Linked DNA regions of Homo sapiens: region 2 is linked to region 1. Evidence: promoter capture Hi-C in 16 types of primary human blood cells and fetal thymus (Javierre and others, 2016). All regions are on one chromosome and are shown on one strand. The core of a region is centred on a gene start or on the middle of the fragment in contact, and the rest is flanking DNA. Distances in the headings are between cores, read along the strand shown.

Region 1 (7,582 bases), core at 4,654-7,153:
ACAGATGGCTGCTCGAGGCCCAGGAAACGGCCCACCTTGGTGTTGGGACTGAGCTAAGAATGAAGCAGAAGAGGGAAGGAAGACTCCCCCCACTGCGGTGAGGTAGGCTCGGGGCCTGGTAACCACCCTTTTGGGATTTTGGTTCCAGAGTGCCTGGCCCCTGATAAGTGTCTGCTGGGCAGGGAGGCTGCCTGGAGTCATCCCATAAGCACTGCTCATCCCAGGAGTGTGCTCCCACGCTCAGCCCTGGATGTGAGCACAGAGACCAGGGCACCCCCTCCAGGACACCCACCAGGGACTCCCCAGCATCGTGCAGCTGTGTCCCCATTCCCCCTTCCTCCCCAGGAGAGGAGACATTCAAAACAGGCGGGACAGATGTGCCTCCTGGTGGTGGCTGGGATGTCTGCATTCCATTCAACACAGCAAACACCTCCTGAGTGTCTTCTGGGGTCAGCCCTGCAATGGGTGCTGGAATACAGTAGGAACAGGCCCCGGCCCCCTGCCCTGGTGAGAAAGAGAACCGTCTGCATGAAGCCAGAGTTTCACTGTACTCGGCTTGGCCTGGAGTCTCCTAATCCCAGCCCCTCCAGAATGTGCCAGTGAGGATAGGATGGGGAACAACCCAGAGAGGCCTAGGGAGGCTGGGGGGACCTGAACTGGAGCTCTGTATTTCTGTGTCTGTCTCCACAGAAAGTCTCCCATTTCCTGGCCCTCTTCCTCCTGAAGCTTTCAAGTGCTCACCAGAGTTTCTCTCCCTCCCACACAGCTCCTCCTTGTTCCCCTGGCCCCTCCCTTGGGTGACTCTGCCCCTAATGGCCCTTCCTCACACCAGTCACATCTGTGGTCCCAGGTCCACCCACGATTGCCACACTCCAGCCAGGGTCACCAAGTACCCAGAAAGAATCCTGGCAGGGGCTGGAATTGGGAAAATGGCTCTAGAAATGGCACCCTGAGCAGAGGAGGGGGTGCTTGGAGTCGCTGAACCTGGAAGAGGCTGTCCTAGCCATCCTAGCACCTAAGTGCAATGCCAGGCGCACATTAGCAACCAATAAAGGTGTGTTGAAGCAAACTGAACTAGATGTCTACCAGGAGCAACATTTTCACTCTGGACAGGTGACAACCATGTGGGCCATGTGAGACATCGCATTAAACCTGAAAAAACCATCCTTCCTGGAAGAAGTGAGAGGGGTGGGTAGAAAACAAGAAGGGGGTGCTTTATCTTCCGTGGGGAGGCGTGTTCATTCATCTGAGAGGGGAGAGAGGAGGAGGTACTGGCAAGGGTGGACCTAGCCTCTCACACACACCCCCTGCCCCCCGACCCCCACCCCTGCTGGGGGGACTCTGAAGCTTCCTTTCCCAGCAGGAGCAGGTCTTAGCATGAAAACTTCTCCAGCCAGTGCCTCTCTCCAGCACAAACTCGTCCCCAGGCTAAACAGAAGCCCTCTGAAGCCTTCTCAGAATCTGGGCTTCCCCTGTCATCCCCTTTCCCACACACACACCCAGCCACAGTGCAAACAGCGTTCCCAGAACCTGCATGGCCAACCAGGATGTCCCCCTCCCTCAGGCAGCCCTTCCCCTCCCTTTCCTCTGCTCAGCGTTTCTGCCTCCTCCCTGCTCCACAGATAGGATCCTGATGACCCAGCAGCCAGGCATGGTAATGCAGCCACGGAGCCTGGGCTCAGCCCGCAAGTCTCTGGAGTTACACTCAGGCTGACTGACAACAGCAAGAAGAAACTGTTGCAGCAGCAAAACCTCCTACCCAAAGTTGCCAGGGCAACTCCGCCCCCTCTCCCCACCTGCCACCCCCTAAAAAATGACTGAGGGTTGTGTTATGCATCGTCTGGCGAAATAATGCCTCCAAACTGCAAACTGCTGATGGTGACAGTTCATCACAGAGCAGGGACTATGCTTGACTGGTCCCAATTACAATTACCCCCACCCCACCCAGCCTGATCAGGGTTGAGGGAAGCTGGGACATGGGACAGGAATGGCTAATGGGGTATGAATGCATCTGCCATGGGAGCAGGAAGGAGGCGGGTGTGGATGGGAACAGGGATGACTGTGTAGAAGTGAAGGGAGGATTGTGCAAAACAGAGAAGAAAAGGGAGGAAGGGAGGGAGGAAAGAGCCAGGGAAAGGAATGGAGTACAGTAGCAGCTGCCAGGCACTGCACAGTGCACATCCCAGGCACTTCCTAGTCAATCCTCATCATACTATGAAACAGGGAATATTCCATATTAACATGAGGAAACTGAGGCTTAGAGGTTAAACAATTTCCCCAAGGTCATTGGTATACCATAGGGGTGGAAGGGACTACTACCATTATTTAGAATGGCCAATGCATGCTGAAAATTGTTAATAAGCTGATTGGTTGGTTTTAAAGTTCTCTGCAGAAAAGTTCCCCTAGTGCCTGCACCTGCAGCAGAACCTGGCCACCACCCTGCCCTTGGTATAGCACTATCCAAGATCATACTGCTAGTCGGTGACAAATCTGAGTTTCACCCAGGTCCATCTGACTCTAAAATTGATATCATCTTCTGGGTCCCCACCAGGGTTCTCTAGGCAGGCCATCCCTCCCACTCCCTTCCCCTTTCACCTCCACCAGACAGCCTCTGGTCCCCCTGCCCCAATCTCCTGGAACCCCTCGCCTGGCCTCAGAGGAGTGGGATGCCCTTTCGTTCAAGCAGCCTGGCTCAAACCCCAAGAGGCTGGAACTGGGGGACAAACTGGATTGGTTCTCCTTTGAGCTCTTGAGTTTCTGCCCCACCGTCCCCTCCTGGGCCATTCCTGTCCATTTGGGAACTTGGAGTCTCTTTTTCCCGAAATATCTGCAAAATCAAATGCCCAAATTCCTGTTCTTCATACTTCCTATTTCTTTCTCCTCCTGCTTTTAATCTTCACAGCCTCTTCCATTCACTCAACGAAACTATACAGAATGCCCACCATGTGCCCCACTCTGAGTCCTGGGGACCCCTCAGAGAGCAAAATGCACAGCAGTGTCTGCCTCCTAAAGCTTTGCTCCAGCCAGTACAAGTCAACGACAACAACAGGCAAATCCACCCAAGAAGAGGACCTCAGATGGCTGTAAATGCTAAGGCGACAAGGAAGCGGGGCAGGTGTACAGGGAGGACAGGGAGTTTCCAATAGAAGCTAAGAGGATGACATATGAACAAAGCCCTGGAAGAGTTGAGGGACCCAGCCATACAGCTATTTGAGGAAAAAGGTTCCCAGCAGAGAAAACAGCAAGGGGGTAAGCATTCGAGGCAGGAGTCATTCTGCCTGTTTGATGGACAGCCAGGATGCTCAAGTGGCTGCAACAGAGTGGGCAGCGGGACAGGTGGAGGGGATGAGGTCAGGGAAGAGGGAGGCACACTGCATAGTGTCTTACAGGGCATTGACTCTGAATGGGTGGGAAACCATGGGAGGAGTTTCGGCATGGAAATGGCATGATCTGACATGTTTTTAAAGGATCACTCTGTGCTGCTAAGAAAAGCCTGAAGGGGCAAGGGAGGAAGCTGGGAGACCAGCTGGGAGTGTAGTTCAGAAGATCCTGTGGGAAGAGATGGGCCTGGGCCAGCATGGGAGCAGCAGGATGGTGAGAAGGAGTAGGAGTCTGGATATATTTTGAAGGGAGAATTTGCCAATGAATTGAATGTGGGAAAAGGGAAATAAAAAACAGAGGACAAAAGGATGACTCCAAGATTTCTGGCATGAACTATTGCAGAGATAGTGATGTTGGCAAGTGGAACATATTTAGCAGGAACAATTAGGAGAACAGTTTTGGTCATAAAGTCATCCCTCTGTATCTGTGGCTCCCACCTTTGTGGATTCAACCAACTGCAGATTGAAACTCTTAAAAAAATTGCATCTGTGCTGAACAAGTACGGACTTTTTTCTTGTCAATAAAGTATAACAACTATTTACATAGCATTTACATTGTATTAGGTATTATAATCCAGTGATGATTTCAAGTATACAGAAGGATGTGTGTGGGTTACATGCAAATACTACACCATTGTATATCGGAGGCTCGACGAACATCCATGGATTTTGGTATCCACAAGGGGTCCTGGAACCAACTACCTGGGGATACCAAGGGACAACTGTATTAAGTTTGAGATGCCTATCTGATATCCAAATAGAGATGTTGGTTAAAATATATGTGTGGCGTTTAGGGGTAGGGAGGTCTGGGATAGAGTTGTGCCTTGGCAGTCATGAATGAACAGATGGTATTTAAAGTCCTGAGTCTGTATAATATCACCAAGGCAATGAGTCTAAAGAAGAGAATAGATACCCAAGGATTGAGCCAGGGACTCTGCAGTGTCTAGAGGTTGGGGATATGAGGAGGAACTGGCTTAGAAGACTGAAAAGAGTGTGGCAAGAAATCGAGAGAGTGTAGTGTCCGAAAATCAAAAGAAGAGCGTGTTTCAAGAGAAAGGGCATGGTCAGCTATGTGAAGAAAGTGAGAACTGAGGACAGACCATTGAATTTAACATGGAGGCCACTGGTGGTCTTGACGAGAAGTATGCACTTCTTATTGTTTTTCTGCTTCATTTCCCCCTTAGACATACAGCTGATAGCTGGAAAAAGAAAATACCGCACAAATGAGCTGGATGCTTCTGGTCAAAAGCATACATCCCCTTCCAAGTGGAATTGCAAGCATCCCAAAGAATCTCAAGCGTCCAGTCAAACATGAGTTCCCCTGGGCAAAGGATGCACTAGAATAGAAAAGGTAAACACCAGCCTGGCTCAGGGTCCTAAAAGAGCTGCAATATTGCTAACAATGATAATATTCAGCTGCTGAGAACTTTTCCTTTTCTATCCAGATGTATATTGCTTTGTGTCTCTCTATCCTAACCAAAGATTCATCAATAATTCAAGGAACCTAAATGGACAGGCCCATAAATCACACCTATGGTATATTTGGGGGCTAAAAATCATGTAGTTAGCTTTCTATACAGAAACTTTCCAATGCTTTGGCCTCAAATCATGCCACAAAGTGTTGACTGCTGGAAATCCTCAAGATAAATGTTCTGCTGGGCATGGTGGTGGATGCCTGTAGTCCCAGCTATCTGGGAGGCGGAGGCGGGAGGATCACTTGAGCCCAGGAGTTCAAGACCAGCCTGGGCAACTAGATCATGTCTCTAAAAAAAAAAAAAAAATTTAAGATAAATCTTCCCCTACTACCATGAAGATAGAGACTGTCTTTGTAATCTCTGTACCCTCAGCAGCAAGCACACTGCTGGATACATAGCAGGCACTCTAAAACTGTAGAATGAATGAATATCTCTGAGTGTCTCAAATCACAGATGTGTCTACACTAGCCCAAATGAGCTTTACTGTAGATTCAACTCTTGTATACTAAACAGCCATATTGGATAAAACATGGCAGAAGGTTTTTTGATGATTTAATTGATTTGCAGAAATGCAACAAACTGTATTTTCTCCATATCACTTCTTACTTGGAGATGTGCACACACTCCCACCTCTTTAGGGGGTTATATCTTCATGGATGCATCCCATGTGAGCCTCTTGCTGGAGCTGTCGCCATCCTAACTTTCTGGTGGTTAGCCACACTCACAGTGAAAAAACCTATTGCATTTATGACCAAAGCAAATTAATGTCCCCTTAATGGCAATTGTGGTAGACTTATAGGGAAAAAAAAGACTATAATGTTTATATGTTTATGTGTTTTTAATGTTTATTGGTTTGCTGTTACAGCCCTCATCCCAATGAGACTAGGTGTGTCTGAGTTAACTCATTGTCAAGGAGGTTATAGGCATGCAGAGTTTCTGCTAACTACCCAAGCTCATAAATGCCTGCAAATGGATTTTTTCATTTTTATGGGGCCAAGCCTCAGATCACCACACACATAAAAGGGGTGCAAGGGTTCCACTGGCCTCAGAGGGACTCCCAGCTCCAGCTCACCCATTCTACACTTGCTCTTTTGCTCCCAACCAGGAAGCCATCATGTCTTGCCGCTCCTACCGAGTCAGCTCTGGTCACCGGGTGGGCAACTTCAGCTCTTGTTCAGCAATGACACCACAGAACCTGAATCGCTTCCGGGCCAACTCTGTCTCCTGTTGGAGTGGGCCTGGATTCCGGGGCCTTGGCAGCTTTGGTAGTCGGAGTGTCATCACCTTTGGATCGTACTCACCCCGGATAGCAGCTGTAGGCTCTCGGCCCATCCACTGTGGAGTCCGCTTTGGTGCTGGCTGTGGGATGGGTTTTGGTGATGGGAGAGGTGTTGGTCTGGGGCCTAGGGCTGACAGCTGTGTTGGTCTGGGCTTTGGAGCTGGCAGTGGCATTGGCTATGGCTTTGGTGGCCCTGGCTTTGGTTACAGAGTTGGAGGGGTTGGAGTCCCAGCAGCCCCATCTATCACAGCTGTGACTGTGAACAAGAGCCTACTGACCCCCCTCAACCTGGAGATTGACCCCAATGCCCAGAGGGTGAAGAAGGATGAGAAGGAGCAAATCAAGACCCTCAACAACAAGTTTGCCTCCTTCATTGACAAGGTACCTATGATAGCTGAATCTCTGGGTCTAGGAATATTACAGCCAAAATGCGCTAGAGTGCTCTTTCCCTTAAAAAGAACTGGCCCGGTTCTGGGGACTTGACCTTGACCTCAGATCTTTCAAGTGCCTACCTCAGGCATTGTGGTATGCTTTATGGGTTGCTCTGCTGCAGAGCAAGGCCAAGCCAGAGGACGAGCTGCATGGTGGGATAGATTCCGACAGTGTTGATATCTTCTGGAGGACAGAGGAGCATCCAGCCAAACTCGAGGGCATCTCGACAAACTAAGATGTTGCATCTGGTCACTTAGAAATGTCTCTGAAACAGGCTGGAAACACTGGGACTTTAGCCAGGTGTTGGCTGGTATATGCTTAAGAGGTTTTATTCTTTGAGATCCTTTTGTTCCTTATGAAGTTTTCATAGTTTCTGAGGCTGAGTGGCCTCATCTATTCAGGCTTAGAAAAGTAGAGAATGGAGTTGAGTAATTAAAAAAAGAAGAAGAATTCATACCCCCACATGGGGTATCAAAATTCGGCCAAGTTGCCTAGATTCAGGGAAATTGCAGGGAATGACCACTGGTAGTCACTGGCTTCCAGGCAGATGAGTGGGAACAGTGATGTGGATAACCCAAAAGAACTGACATCCCACACACCATGTCTATGTGGAGATGGAATGGTTATGTCTGAGAATGAAGGATAACCTCTGTAAGTTTTGGGTTCTTCCTCTCTAAAATGAGGGGCTGGGGTAAAGGGTCTGTAAGTTCTCTTCCAGCTCTACACATAGCCAATGGAATATCTGCGATGTTGGATAGGACTTACAATCTGAGAATTCCTACCTCCCAGTACCATATCCCACCCCAAATGTAGTTTACTCTGCTCCCCATTCTCTGCCAGGGATGCCTGGCATCAGTTTTCAGATATAGGCAAACCAGAGCTTAAATAGAATCAACCCTTCCAACTTCCTGATGTACCAGTGTACAGCTTTCTTAGAGACTGGATAGGGGAATGGTACTGAAGTGCTATGGTTCAAAACCCCATATTGGTAACTAGGCCTAGCCGAGCACAAGGAG
Region 2 (7,582 bases), core at 4,545-7,044, 260 kb before region 1:
AATGAATTCTTACCTGGAGACTCTGGTGTTAGCATCCACACTAGGTTGAGCATTTATTTCCTGTTGGCTAGACAGTTAACCCCTTCTCTGCTTAATACTGGGGGCTCATTTTTTCTGCCCCACTGGCCAATAGACGAGCTTTTGAAACACTATGAGGAGAAGCATTTAGGATCTTGGACTTGCTGGCAGTTTGTTGAAAGAAAAAGTGGGGAACAGGAAGAAGGATTTTGTTCTATAGGATTCCTGTTCTCTTCTCAGAGACAGTGAAGCTTAACACTCTTTGCAGCAATAGCTCGATGTCCTTGTGGGACAGTAGGGATTCAGGATAAATATTCCTATTTTATAGATGAAGAAATTGAGGATACCAGTTGCGTAGAGGCAAAATCACAACCAGACCAAGATTCTTAACTTCCATTTCACTCTCTTAAAGAATGCAAAGCATATTATCTAGGAAAGCACATTGAGATTATGTAAAAGTTGAAAATTTAAAAATATAGAAATAAAATGTTACATAATATTCAAATTGCATTAATTCTAGTCTCCACATTTCAAAAGAGTAGGAGGACTCTTTCAACTTGACTTTCAAAAATTGGTGAATGGGTCTAGAAGGAGAAGATGTTCAGTGGAGAGAGTGGGGAGGGAGACCAGGGTGTGAGGGCAGAATTAAAATGCAGTAAAACATGCAGATTGGGTGCCTAGCACAAATCTGGCTCAATTTCCTTCATAGAGGCATTAAGACCCCCCTGAAGCTGCCATAGTGTGAGCACAGTCATGGTGGAGTAAGGGACGACTAGGGCATTGCTCAGATATCTGTAGATAATGACACATTTTGCTTTGGATTGAGACTGTCTCCAAAGCTGTTAGCTTCATGATTTGTTTGCATGATTATAATTATGCAAACCAGATTGGAAAAAATAATTGAGGAGACATGTAGCTTTGTTTCCTTCAGCATTCTTTTACTGCAAATTAAATACCTTGAATAGTAGTTAAGACAGGATTGGAAACTTGGCGGGGAAGATGCAGAAGGGTGAATAGCATTTATTGAGTTTCTGCTATGAACTAGGAACTGTGTTTAGCACATGTGTGTATTGTTCTGTTTTCACAGTAGCCATATTCTTATTATTCTTGTTCACTTTTTATAGATGAGGAAACTGAGGCTTGAAGAGGATTATGGATTATCTGAGGTCATTTAACTAAGATACAAGAAAATTGGGATTTGACCTCAAACTTATGTTTTTTACATTATTTTGTGATAACTTGGTACTAGGATCTGAACCACCTGGTTCTGTAATTTATGATGCCTGTGGAGAGTGCATGTTCATAGTAGCCAGAAGACAGTAACATGGCAAGGGGGAAAGGAAAAGGAATTATCTTTGTCTCACCCCAAACAATAATGATACTGACATTTTATTGTGCACGGTGGTTTTCAAAACACTTCATACGAATTTCCCATTTTATAGCTGGGACCACAGAGCCTCAGGGTTTCATTCAAGGCCTCACAGCCAATAAATAGCAAAACTGGGACTCAAACCCAGAATTTCTGACTAAATTCAGTTTTATTACTCCAAGAACCTCTCCCACATAGTTGGCCACATGGACAGAGGAAGTGGTTGAGTTTAAGTGTGAGTGCTCTGTGCAGGCTGGATGGTCTTCTTATCCTCAAGCATCTGTGGATGTCATTGAAGAGCCTGACTTCCTAATCACTTCCCAGGATCACCAGGCAATACGTGATTACTGACTGACTGAATCAATATACACTTGGATCTTGGTTTGCAAACTTTCACTTGGTGTCCCGCATCACACAGGTCCAGAAACAGCGAAACTTTTCTCATACCTCTCAACCTCTGGGTGTTCATGTAGACAAGGGACAGTTGATGGTTATACAAACCATCATGGTTATAAAAAATCTCTATTCGGTGCCTAGTTATTGTGTATTTTTGGTGTGGCATGGGAAGAAAAGAGCCAAGATATTTTGAAAATCGACACCTCTTTTGCAGTATCCGAGGCCAATTACTTTCTGTAAGAGGAGGTCGATTTCCAATTAGCATTTAAGGTCATTTAAGACCTTTGCAGTCTCCCCTGCACTAGTTGGGGCTCTTTCTGGGAAAGAGGGAAACTACAAGAGAACTACAAGGCTGGCATTGAGGGGCTCTTGCAGTCTCTAAACCCACCATCCCTTTCATTGTTGAACTGGGGTGGTGAGCCTGCACAAGCATGGGTGGTAGCTGACTTCCCTTGGGCAGGTCCAGAACAGGGAGCAGCATTCTGCAGAAGGTCCTTTTCCAGATTGAGAAACCCAAACCCTGATCTCCTCTTTTGATGATTTTACAAAAATCAAATTGCATGACAGATGCCCAGATAAACAGAAGTTTGCAATCAAAGCAAGTTCTGGGATGGAGCTGATTAGTAGATTTTTAATGGCTATTAGCTTGATAATCACGCACCAGGAATAGCTCCCAGGCAGACCAAACCCACGTATAAGTGGATCCACACCCATGTACACAACACCTAGTTGGCAGGTATATAAGGGGACCCTGAAAGCCTCCCAGCAGCACAGTTGAGTCTCCAGCCTTGACTCTTCTCAAGAGCCTGTGACTTTCCTCCCTGGACAAAGGCATCATGAGTTGTCAGATCTCTTGCAAATCTCGAGGAAGAGGAGGAGGTGGAGGAGGATTCCGGGGCTTCAGCAGCGGCTCAGCTGTGGTGTCTGGTGGAAGCCGGAGATCAACTTCCAGCTTCTCCTGCTTGAGCCGCCATGGTGGTGGTGGCGGGGGCTTCGGTGGAGGCGGCTTTGGCAGTCGGAGTCTTGTTGGCCTTGGAGGGACCAAGAGCATCTCCATTAGTGTGGCTGGAGGAGGTGGTGGCTTTGGCGCCGCTGGTGGATTTGGTGGCAGAGGAGGTGGTTTTGGAGGCGGCAGCAGCTTTGGAGGTGGCAGCGGCTTCAGTGGTGGTGGTTTCGGTGGAGGCGGCTTTGGTGGAGGCCGCTTTGGAGGTTTTGGGGGCCCTGGTGGTGTTGGAGGTTTAGGGGGTCCTGGTGGCTTTGGGCCTGGAGGATACCCTGGTGGCATCCACGAAGTCTCTGTCAACCAGAGCCTCCTGCAGCCTCTCAACGTGAAAGTTGACCCAGAGATCCAGAATGTGAAGGCCCAAGAGCGTGAGCAGATCAAAACTCTCAACAACAAATTTGCCTCCTTCATTGACAAGGTGACTCTGGAGAAGACGGCTCCCACTGATGCTCAGGCCACTTCACTTCCAGAGCCAACCAAAAAGAAAATGGCACAGATTTGTATTTCTTAGGAGCCAGTGGTGTACCGCAGTAGCCTGGGTCATTTGCGGTTTCCAGATGGAAAAGACGCCAGCTTTGTGGGTTACATTTCCCATAACAGCCTGCACTTAGGAAGCATTTGTCCCTTTGACCTTATTGTTACAGTCCATATAAATAATATTTATGGAAAATTCTGAAAACCATAAAAAATGGATATAGGCAAGTATTGAACTGATCCTTGGGACAGGCCACTGGAGCAGCAGGTTTTGGAAGCCATCGTCTTCTGAGATAGTGTTTCCTTCCTTAGCAGTGATTACTAAACTCTGGGAAGCTGAACCTGAAATATCTGCTTGGGAATGCAGGAAATTCCTGCCTTCAAGAGAAGCGTTCTCAGTTTTGTGATCCATAAAGTCTTTATTGGTGTCACTTCGGAGTGTTACTGGCTTTTCTCCTATTTCAAGGCAGACGAACCTGTCTTGGTTTATCTGCCTTGAAATAGGCAGGGATTTACAAGGCTCTTAAAAATCAGGCTGAGGAGCCCTGCCCTCTGGGACTCTCATACTCAGCACCCTTGCGAGCAGTGCCAGCAGATGGCTGCTTTCGGTTTTCCCCAGAATTTATGGGATCTTGGCTGGAAATTCAACCAGGATGCGGGGAGGGAAATGGTCTAGAGTATTGGGAGCAGCTGCAAACAAACCAGTGAGCAGTGAAGCAGCAAAGAGTCTCCTCTGCGTGGAGAGAGCCGGATGTAGCATTAGGAGTCTGTGGGACTTTCCAGGGGCGAAAGCAGGGAGCTCAGAAGCTCTGCCAGTCATGACTCGGCATCCAGCCTCAGACACTTCTCGAGGTCCTGAAGCAGCACCTGAGCTGCCCCTGGCCAGCGTGGCTTGCTTGGTGTGAAGGATGATCTAGAACTCATGTGCTCTCCTTCTGGTCATGGCAGGTGCGGTTCTTGGAGCAGCAGAACCAGGTGTTACAGACCAAATGGGAGCTGCTACAACAAATGAATGTTGGCACCCGCCCCATCAACCTGGAGCCCATCTTCCAGGGGTATATCGACAGCCTCAAGAGATATCTGGATGGGCTCACTGCAGAAAGAACATCACAGAATTCAGAGCTGAATAACATGCAGGATCTTGTGGAGGATTATAAGAAGAAGTAGGTGGCAGAGTGAAACGCTGAGTGGAGATAAACATTGCACTGAGCCATTTGATCACTCCCTGGAAAGCCATTCATCTCCCAGTTGCATTTGTGGTGGTAATGGGGAGAGGCATATGTATCTTTGTTGATTATTTGTGAGGAAGACAGTGAGACTTTAGAGATCATTTTTGTCTTTTGTATGTTTGAGAGTTAGTTTATAAAAATATATCTTTAGTTTGGAAATCTTAGTTTCAATTTAGATATTTAAAAAGTGTGTAATATTCCCAGAGAATGGGGCATTTGGGGTGAATCCAGTATAAAAGGAAAAGAAAAAAAATGAAGGGGAACTAATCTAACTGCTGTAACATCTGTGTCCCAATAGGTATGAGGATGAAATCAATAAGCGCACAGCTGCTGAGAATGATTTTGTGACGCTTAAAAAGGTGAGCGAGAGAATGTCTTGGCTGGGGGTGGGGATAGGAGTGCTTCACAGCCCCATTGTGTCTAAGCAGCCAGTTTGGAAATCAACTGTGAGTGCAAAAGCAGCAGCCAGAGAAAGGAGTGAGACCCATGGCACATTCTCTTGCAAACAAAATTGTCTCTGTAGGTCAAGCTTCTGGATACAGTTTTCAAAGCTGTTCTGCATTTTTGGTAGAGTGCTTCCCAGTAGTAACCCACTTAAAGCCTCTACTGAATCATGATAAATGCAAACACAAAAATCTCTTTGTATTCTCCTTCTAAAGAGCTGAGGAAGGAATGGGACTTCCCTTAGAATGCCTGCTTAAAGTTGCTGTTGGTTGTGCTGACAAAGGTTTGAGGTTGTAGGCCAAAAGCAAGGGTTCTCCTGCTGGGTCCTGCAGGGCCTTTGGTGTATATTCTGGGGAAATTTCGGAGAGGTGAGATGGACAGACGGGATGAGAGAGCTGAGGACTGTGGAAACCCACAAAGAACATCGTATCCTGTTGTAGAAACACACAGTGTCTCAAGCAGGAGAGAGGGGCTGGTTGGCAAAGCTTGGTCATCTCGAGGCTCTGATGGTCCTGAGGGCTGTGAGCCATGGACGTAGGCATGAAGTCCCTGGCAGAGGTGTATGGTAAACTGCACGACAAAAGAAGTCCCATGGGGACAGGGATCAGGTTGGGGAGCCTGGGATTTTAGAGAGGAGCCAGCAGGGACTGAGTAGAGGGGAGTGGCAGAGAGAGGAAGAGGCCTGTACAGGGAACCATACACCAGAGGCCTCAACCTTTCTTGCAGGACGTGGACAATGCCTACATGATAAAGGTGGAGTTGCAGTCCAAGGTGGACCTGCTGAACCAGGAAATTGAGTTTCTGAAAGTTCTCTATGATGCGGTAAGGAGGCTGCTCCGGGACAGTCCCTTACTTCCCACCCTTCTCACCAAATGAAAGTCCTTTCTGCTTGGTGAAAAAGTGGCAGAAGTGGGGTTTATGGACCAGCTGACTTCAATCTGCCATCATTCCAGGCCACTGGGGGGGCTTTCATAGCATAGGTCTTGTGGGTGAGGAATTTTCTCCTCCGATGTTATGGGAATAAGGTTCAGGAAACACCAGGACAGCTTCCCCTCCCTCCATTCCCCAGATGTCCATTTCCCCTGGGGAAGAGACAAGCCCTGTGCCCATTCCTGTGCCTACTGTACTTCAGAGGTCAAAATGCATTTGTCTCCTATCCCCCTCCCCAACCCAAGGGTGCACAGATGATTTCTGAAACAGGAAGTCCATTTAAGGTATTTGCCATGGACAAGCTTCTGTCTGGGGGCACTTACCATAACTGGCTTAAGTGCTGAATGTTAACTAGGAGGCTCAGAAATACAGGTGCCTCTCACTACAATTCTCAGGACAACCTTGGGAGAGGCCCAGGAGTAGACGGTTACATGATTTTCATCCCACCTAGTGTATGCTTAGTCTGAGGGTCTGCGTTTCCCTTATGCTGGGAGACAGAGGCCTCCTGTCTGCCTGTAGCTATGGCAGGATGTCATGACCAGACCTTCCTGTGTGTTGTAGGAGATATCCCAGATACATCAGAGTGTCACTGACACCAACGTCATCCTCTCCATGGACAACAGCCGCAACCTGGACTTGGATAGCATCATCGCCGAGGTCAAGGCCCAGTATGAGGAGATCGCCCAGAGGAGCAAGGAAGAAGCGGAGGCCCTGTACCACAGCAAGGCAAGTAGAGGGAATGTAGGAAGAGCCACAGCTCCCTGCCATGAGCTGGGTTGCACCCCCAGCTGGAAAGTGTACAGTAAGGTTATTGGTTTTTTGTTTAATGGTAGTTGGGCACCATTCCCAAGAAAGGATGTTGAGAATGGCACCAAGTCCTTTTGGGCATGTGAGACAGTCCCTACCTCTCATGAATGCAGCCATGACATTTAGCTGGGTTGACCCTCCCTGGACCAGTAACCAGCTCTCCTTCACTCCAGTCAGTCTGGAATGTGAGCCAGGCTGGAACTTCCTTGCAAACTGTCCTCTTCTCCCCATATCAGTATGAGGAGCTCCAGGTGACTGTCGGGAGACATGGAGACAGCCTGAAAGAGATCAAGATAGAGATCAGCGAGCTGAACCGCGTGATCCAGAGGCTGCAGGGGGAGATCGCACATGTGAAGAAGCAGGTGAGGCCCAGCCCTGTCCAGCGAGGGGCGGGAGGTTGTCTCTGGGTGTGCGTGAGAGTGTGGTTGTGTGTGAGTGTGCATGTGAGAGATGAGAGACACTGAGATATTGCACTCTAGCATGTATCGATCCCAAATTCCCCAGCTTAACATAATTTATGGCTTATTATAACAATTCTTAGAGTGCTCTAATAGACATTCCAAAGTAAGGATTATCGAAGGGAAAGAATTGTGCTCACTTGTTTATATGAGGAAAAGGGAGTCATAACAAATAGAGCAAACGTTAGTTTGATTGATTTGCTGCAGATTGCCGATGGAGCTTCCCGTTTGTGCTCAGCACAGGCCCTGAGCACCAGCCGACTGGTTTCATAGAGGGGCAGTGAGTATTGAGGGCAGCTGGCCTGGGGCTGGACGTTAGCTTTGGAATAGAAAAGGTAGAGGCAGAGAGTGGATTCCATCAGCAGCAGAAGCTTTGCCAAGCAGACCATTTCAAATGTTTTCATTTCCATCTGTAAAATGGGATCATGATTCAGGCCCTGTGATGTGAGGATCA

The links. The method cuts DNA at HindIII sites, captures the fragments that hold promoters and counts their contacts. A CHiCAGO score of 5 or more calls a contact.
Region 2: a fragment that was not itself captured here is called in contact with the fragment with the promoter of KRT84 in region 1 in 1 of 17 cell types (endothelial precursors); the score reaches 5.9 in endothelial precursors.

The regions. Positions count from the first base shown.
Region 1 is chr12:52,383,973-52,391,554 of GRCh38, reverse strand. It overlaps KRT84 (keratin 84), which reads left to right and starts at 5,903. Exons shown (of 9, transcript NM_033045.4): 1 at 5,903-6,515. The coding sequence starts at 5,970. The HindIII fragment of the contact is 9,508 bases long and covers 3,015-7,582 here.
Region 2 is chr12:52,647,180-52,654,761 of GRCh38, reverse strand. KRT2 (keratin 2) reads left to right here and starts at 2,551. Exons shown (of 9, transcript NM_000423.3): 1 at 2,551-3,204; 2 at 4,209-4,423; 3 at 4,788-4,848; 4 at 5,660-5,755; 5 at 6,425-6,589; 6 at 6,907-7,032. The coding sequence starts at 2,620. The HindIII fragment of the contact is 747 bases long and covers 5,421-6,167 here.